Linked DNA regions of Homo sapiens: region 1 is linked to region 2. The links are contacts of gene promoters, found by promoter capture Hi-C in blood cells and fetal thymus (Javierre and others, 2016). All regions are on one chromosome and are shown on one strand. The core of a region is centred on a gene start or on the middle of the fragment in contact, and the rest is flanking DNA. Distances in the headings are between cores, read along the strand shown. Region 1 has its middle 46 kb from the start of MTERF1. Region 2 holds the start of ERVW-1 (endogenous retrovirus group W member 1, envelope).

Region 1 (2,960 bases), core at 383-2,882, 640 kb after region 2:
TCATCAGCAGGTGGTTCTTCTGAATTCCTCATTATCTTGTATATATAATGGGGGGGGAAAAGCCAGTTCCAGCAGAACTTGAAACATGAATATAAAAGGCATTTTAAAATGTATTTTAAAAACTTCCTTAGAGAGGAAATATAGGGTTCCTTCTTTTGTAGCCTGAAGAGGAAGGTGAGTTCAACAGAAGGTCAAAATGAGGAGAAGTAGCCATTCCAGTCTTGCTTGGACAAAACCTTTATTATCTAACATTTCTATAGCTCTTTGTATTTTCCAAAGACCTTTACAAATGTATTTTTTCCCCCATGTAACAAGCTTTTGATCAAAGCAGGTTAGTATTCATCTTTACATTTTCTAGATGAGAGAAAAGAGTTCCAGAGAAGTGAAGTCACTTTTGCAGGTCCCAAGATGTATAAAAAGTAAAATGAGATTTTGAGCCTTTGACACGGAATTCTTGGTGTAATTACTGTGCAACATGTTATATCCTGTCTTGACTAAATTTTTACAAATGGGTTAAAAGAGTTCTTAATCTCAGAAGCCAACTCTGGAATTCTAAATAGAGGATACTCAGTGGGGAGGCTTGAGGTTTTATTAGAACAGATTTCTTTGGGCCAGCAGGCATAGAGGGCTGTGGTAAAGAGCTGATGTAGTTCAGAAACTTCAGAGAAGAAAGTCCCAGACTTCAGAGGAGGTGTTCTTTCAGTTACTTGTGGATTATGGTTGTATCTCTTTATAGAAGAAATCTGAGAGTGATGCTTGTAGGACTAGTAGCCAAGGAAGTGGTTCAGCTCAGCTGTTGATATTTGTGTCCAGTGCTCAGTTAGCTCTTCATGTGTTTGAATTCTTTTTTTCCTAGAGGAGAGAACCTGGCCAGTCTCCAATTTCTGAGACTCTAATTTAGGTTATATATTTCTCTGCAATGTGAATCTATTTCAAACTTGATGTAAGATTGCTCACTAGTGCATTGCCAAATACCCGATAGGCACCTCAGTAAATATTTATTAATGTTAATGATGAGAATAACCTTTTTAAATATTTGTGTTTGAAATATGTACTCTACCAATACTGCAATAGGGAAAGCTTTCAGGATAATTACATTTTGTATTTATATCCAGTGATTTATTCCTAAGATCTCAAATTTTGTTAGAGATATGATTATAGTATATATATTTTTTCAGACTTAAGGTTATTGGCAATTGTTAGTCCTGTTTAATAGATGAGGAGTGTAAAAAGAGACGGGGAGTGATTTGCAAAAAGTCTCACTGTGGATTGAAGTAAGATATGAAAGTTTAGATCTATGGTTCCAAATTTCACTAAAACGAGTCTAGCTCTGGGAACTAAACCAATGGTCAAGAAGTTGCAATGGGACATTGAATAACTCACGTATGTGGAACTATCCTCCTGATTAAAATTAATTTTGAAAAATGAATTTTTCTTTGACTCTATCTGTGAGGTGTGGCAGCTAGAGACTGTTTTTTCCCTATTAAATATAACCCATGATTGTTTAGTCCTGATGATTCAAATGGTAATATTATCTATTTATATTACTACTATTATTTTTTTCAAATCAGCCTAATAAATATAGAAATTGATCTTTTTTGTTTGTTTGTTTTAGAGAGGGGATCTCGCTGTGTTGCCCAGGCTAATGTCAAACCCCTGGCCTCAAGCGAACCTCCCACCTCAGCCTCCCAAAATGCTGGGATTATAGGCATGAGCCACCAAATCCAGTCAATATTTTACTTTTGAATATACAGATTCATAATTTTTAAAAGCACAGCAGTGGAAGTTACAATGATTAGTACTTTTCTTAATCAAAGTGGAAAATTGCTTTACTCATTATCTTAGAAATAAATTCAGTAGATATTTTAGAAATGAAGTGTCCCTACTTACTTTTATAACTTTTTGCATAAATAAAATGAGTAACTAGTCTATGTATTTAAAAATAATCAAAATAAATGCAATTTTTAGCTTTTTTTCTTATTAAAATTGTCATGTAAAACATCTCCTAGTATTATTTTTATCATTTGTTGTCATCAGCATTTCTCAAAAGGTGATCTGTAATTCACCTGCATCAGAGTCACCTGAGATATTTATTAAAATGTAGAGGTTAGTTTCCCACCCCAGCTCTACTGAACAAGACTCTTAGCACCAGACTCTAGACATCTGTATTTTAAATAAGCTTTTTAGGTTACAAGTACAACCTGCGAGTAATTCAGAATTGCTTCAGTGTGAGAGGCTGGGGAAGTAGAGACAGAGGCAAGGGAGATAAGCAAGGGAAAGCATGATATGCTGAGGTGTTCGGATCTTATCCTGGAGGTAGTAAGGATTTAAGATAGGCAGTAACATAAATTAACTGCATTCACTTTGAGTCGCATTTACTTTTTATCTAACAATTTTTTAGAGACAGGGTCTCGCTACATTGCCCAGGCTAGAGTGCAGTGGCTATTCACAAACTCAACAATTGTGCACTATAGGCTTGAATTCCTGGGCTCAAGTGATCCTCCCACCTCAGCCTCCCAAGTAGTTGGAATTACAGGTGAATATCACTGACCTTGGCTTTTGAGTTACTTTTATAAATTACTTATTTAGAGAAGAGTTAATCCCACTATCAAGAAAGATAGGTTAAACTAACTGCACATAAGATTGCATTCTTATTTAAGATTACTTTGAAGGGTATCAGATGTGTATAATTTATTATTCACTATCCTGGCCTTAGCAGTTCCAATTTGTTTTGCGTGTAAATGATAACTCATATAAACCACCATTATTTCCTATTATGATCCATATAAAAATTGAAGTATGGAAAAAGAAACTCAAGAACAAATTGGTAATATTATTAATATACATGCACAAATACAAAGCCGTGAGTAACTATAAATGCCGTAATTGTGTTAATGAAATGGAAAACATTCCTGATGCAGGTTGTCAGGGGCAGGTTGGAGCTTTACTCTGTGGAGACG
Region 2 (2,999 bases), core at 302-2,801:
GTGAAAATGGCCTGTTCCTGCCTTAACCGATGACATTCCACCACTGTGATTTGTTCCTGCCCCACCTTAACTGAGCAATTAACCTTGGGAAATTCCTTCTCCTGGCTCAAAACCTCCCCCACTGAGCACCTTGTGACCCCTGCCCCTCCACTACCCACCCAAATCCTATAAAATGGCCCCACCCCATCTCCCTTAGCTGACTCCTTTTTTGGACTCAGCCCGCCTGCACCCAGGTGAAATAAACAGCCTTGTTGCTCACACAAAGCCTGTTTGGTGGACTCTCTTCACAGGGACGGGGGTGACAACAACACGGACACACATGGAGTGGTTTTAAGGAGCAGAGAGTTTAATACGCAAAAAAGAAGGAAGAGGCTCCCCTGTACAGACACAGAGGGAGGGGGCTCCAAGCCGAGAGAAGGAAACCCCATGTGCAGTGGAAAAGTGGTTGATTATACTGGGAGGCTGGAGGAGGCGGTGTCTGATTTGCACAGGGCCCAGGGGATTGGGTTGACCAGGTGTATCATTCATGTACCCCGCAAAAAACCTGGCCCTCCCACCTCAGCCCTTTAATATGCAAATGTGGGTTGCCATGATGTTCTGAAAACACATGAATTATCTGGAGGGGGCCATGACACTTGGTACATGTGCTGACAAGAAGAGGGTGGGAATCGCCATGGTGGCCATGTTGGGTGGACCTAGTTTTTAATAGCCTGCATTTGCATATCAAAGTTTGCTGGCCTGGCTCTTTAAGCTGTCTTTTCTGTTAGAAAAGGAATGGTTTGGAATGGGTGAGGGTTGCTTCTTATTACAAGAAAATTTCCAAAAACCTTTACTCTTTCTAGCTGCCAAAAAACTATTTCTTAATAACTTATGTATTACCATAATTAGGCAGCACCAAAGATCCCTGCAGGTCAGACCACTGCAATTAACATGCTGGCTTTACTGCTGATTATGGTAGCTGCATCCACCTAGCCTCTCATATTGCAACTGCCTGACCTCTGCCACCCCACGAGCCACTTATCCCCACTTATAATCAGCCCATTTCGATTGTAACATCTGCCACTTATTCCCGACGTTGTGGTATATCCTATAGATGAATTCATTCAACATCCATTCCAACACCACCTCTCTTGCCTTCCTATACTCTCTGGAGAGTGAATTACTGAGTCACATGATCTTCACTGCAGTCATTTGTGGCTATGTGACATAGTTCTGGACAGTGAACATAGACAGAAGTCCCTGGGGCGGGCTTCCTTTCTGGGATGAGGGCAAAACGCCTGGAGATACAGCAATTATCTTGCAACTGAGAGACAGGACTAGCTGGATTTCCTAGGCCGACTAAGAATCCCTAAGCCTAGCTGGGAAGGTGACCACGTCCACCTTTAAACACGGGGCTTGCAACTTAGCTCACACCTGACCAATCAGAGAGCTCACTAAAATGCTAATTAGGCAAAGACAGGAGGTAAAGAAATAGCCAATCATCTATTGCCTGAGAGCACAGCAGGAGGGACAACAATCGGGATATAAACCCAGGCATTCGAGCTGGCAACAGCAGCCCCCCTTTGGGTCCCTTCCCTTTGTATGGGAGCTGTTTTCATGCTATTTCACTCTATTAAATCTTGCAACTGCACTCTTCTGGTCCATGTTTCTTACGGCTCGAGCTGAGCTTTTGCTCACCGTCCACCACTGCTGTTTGCCACCACCGCAGACCTGCCGCTGACTCCCATCCCTCTGGATCCTGCAGGGTGTCCGCTGTGCTCCTGATCCAGCGAGGCGCCCATTGCCGCTCCCAATTGGGCTAAAGGCTTGCCATTGTTCCTGCACGGCTAAGTGCCTGGGTTTGTTCTAATTGAGCTGAACACTAGTCACTGGGTTCCATGGTTCTCTTCTGTGACCCACGGCTTCTAATAGAACTATAACACTTACCACATGGCCCAAGATTCCATTCCTTGGAATCCGTGAGGCCAAGAACTCCAGGTCAGAGAATACGAGGCTTGCCACCATCTTGGAAGCGGCCTGCTACCATCTTGGAAGTGGTTCACCACCATCTTGGGAGCTCTGTGAGCAAGGACCCCCCGGTAACATTTTGGCAACCACGAACGGACATCCAAAGTGGTGAGTAATATTGGACCACTTTCACTTGCTATTCTGTCCTATCCTTCCTTAGAATTGGAGGAAAATACCGGGCACTTGTCGGCCAGTTAAAAACGATTAGTGTGGCCACCGGACTTAAGACTCAGGTGTGAGGCTATCTGGGGAAGGGCTTTCTAACAACCCCCAACCCTTCTGGGTTGGGGACTTGGTTTGCCTCAAGCCAGCTTCCACTTTCAGTTTTCTTGGGGAAGCCGAGGGCCGACTAGAGGCAGAAAGCTGTCGTCCTGAACTCCCGGCAGTAGCCGGTTGAGATCATGGTGTAGCCAGAAGTCTCAACAGTCGCCCATGCATGCACCCCTATCTTTCCTTCTGACCCATACCTCCTGGGTCCCAACCACAACTTTCTTCAAAGTGTAGCCCCAAAATTCTCCTTACCTCTGAATATACTTCCTCTGATCCCTGCCTCCTAGGTACTATTGGTTCAGACTTCCATTTCCTCTAGCAAGTTGTATCTCCAAAGGGATCTAAGGAAGCTCTGCGCTGCGTCCTTAGGCACCTAGGCTATAACCCAGGGAGTCTTATCCCTGGTGTCCCTCCCAATTTAGGCATACAGCTCTTGACATGGGCAGTTATGTAGGACCCACTCCCCACCACCCTTGCCAGGGCCCCAAGTTTGTAAATGGCTGAGGGAAAAGAGAGACAGAGGAGAGAGAGAGAAATGGAGGAGAAAGAGAGAGAGACAGAGAGGAGAGAGAGACAGTGAGAGAGACAGAAGAGAGAGAGAGACAAAGAGGAGAGAGAGAGAGTCAAAGAGAGAAAGAAAGAGAAAGAAATAGTAAAAAACAGTGTGCCCTATTCCTTTAAAAGCCAGGGTAAATTTAAAACCTGTACTTGATAATTGAAGG

Evidence for each region. Contacts are between HindIII fragments. The CHiCAGO score rates a contact against its expected background, and 5 or more counts as called.
Region 1: a contact is called between a fragment that was not itself captured here and the fragment with the promoter of ERVW-1 in region 2, in 2 of 17 cell types (erythroblasts and naive CD8 T cells). The highest score is 6.0, in erythroblasts.

Annotation. Positions count from the first base shown.
Region 1 is chr7:91,833,181-91,836,140 of GRCh38, reverse strand. No RefSeq gene overlaps it. Among named protein-coding and RNA genes, the nearest start is that of MTERF1, 46 kb to the left of the region's middle. The HindIII fragment of the contact is 1,099 bases long and covers 1,083-2,181 here.
Region 2 is chr7:92,476,498-92,479,496 of GRCh38, reverse strand. ERVW-1 (endogenous retrovirus group W member 1, envelope) reads left to right here and starts at 1,551. Exons shown (of 2, transcript NM_001130925.2): 1 at 1,551-2,115. It also overlaps a transcript of GATAD1 not described here. RefSeq lists enhancers at 1,238-1,269, 867-1,297, 1,187-1,331, 1,309-2,228, 2,366-2,867 and 1 more, cis regulatory regions at 867-1,175, 1,176-1,237 and promoters at 1,262-1,622, 1,329-1,661. The HindIII fragment of the contact is 16,290 bases long and covers 1-2,999 here.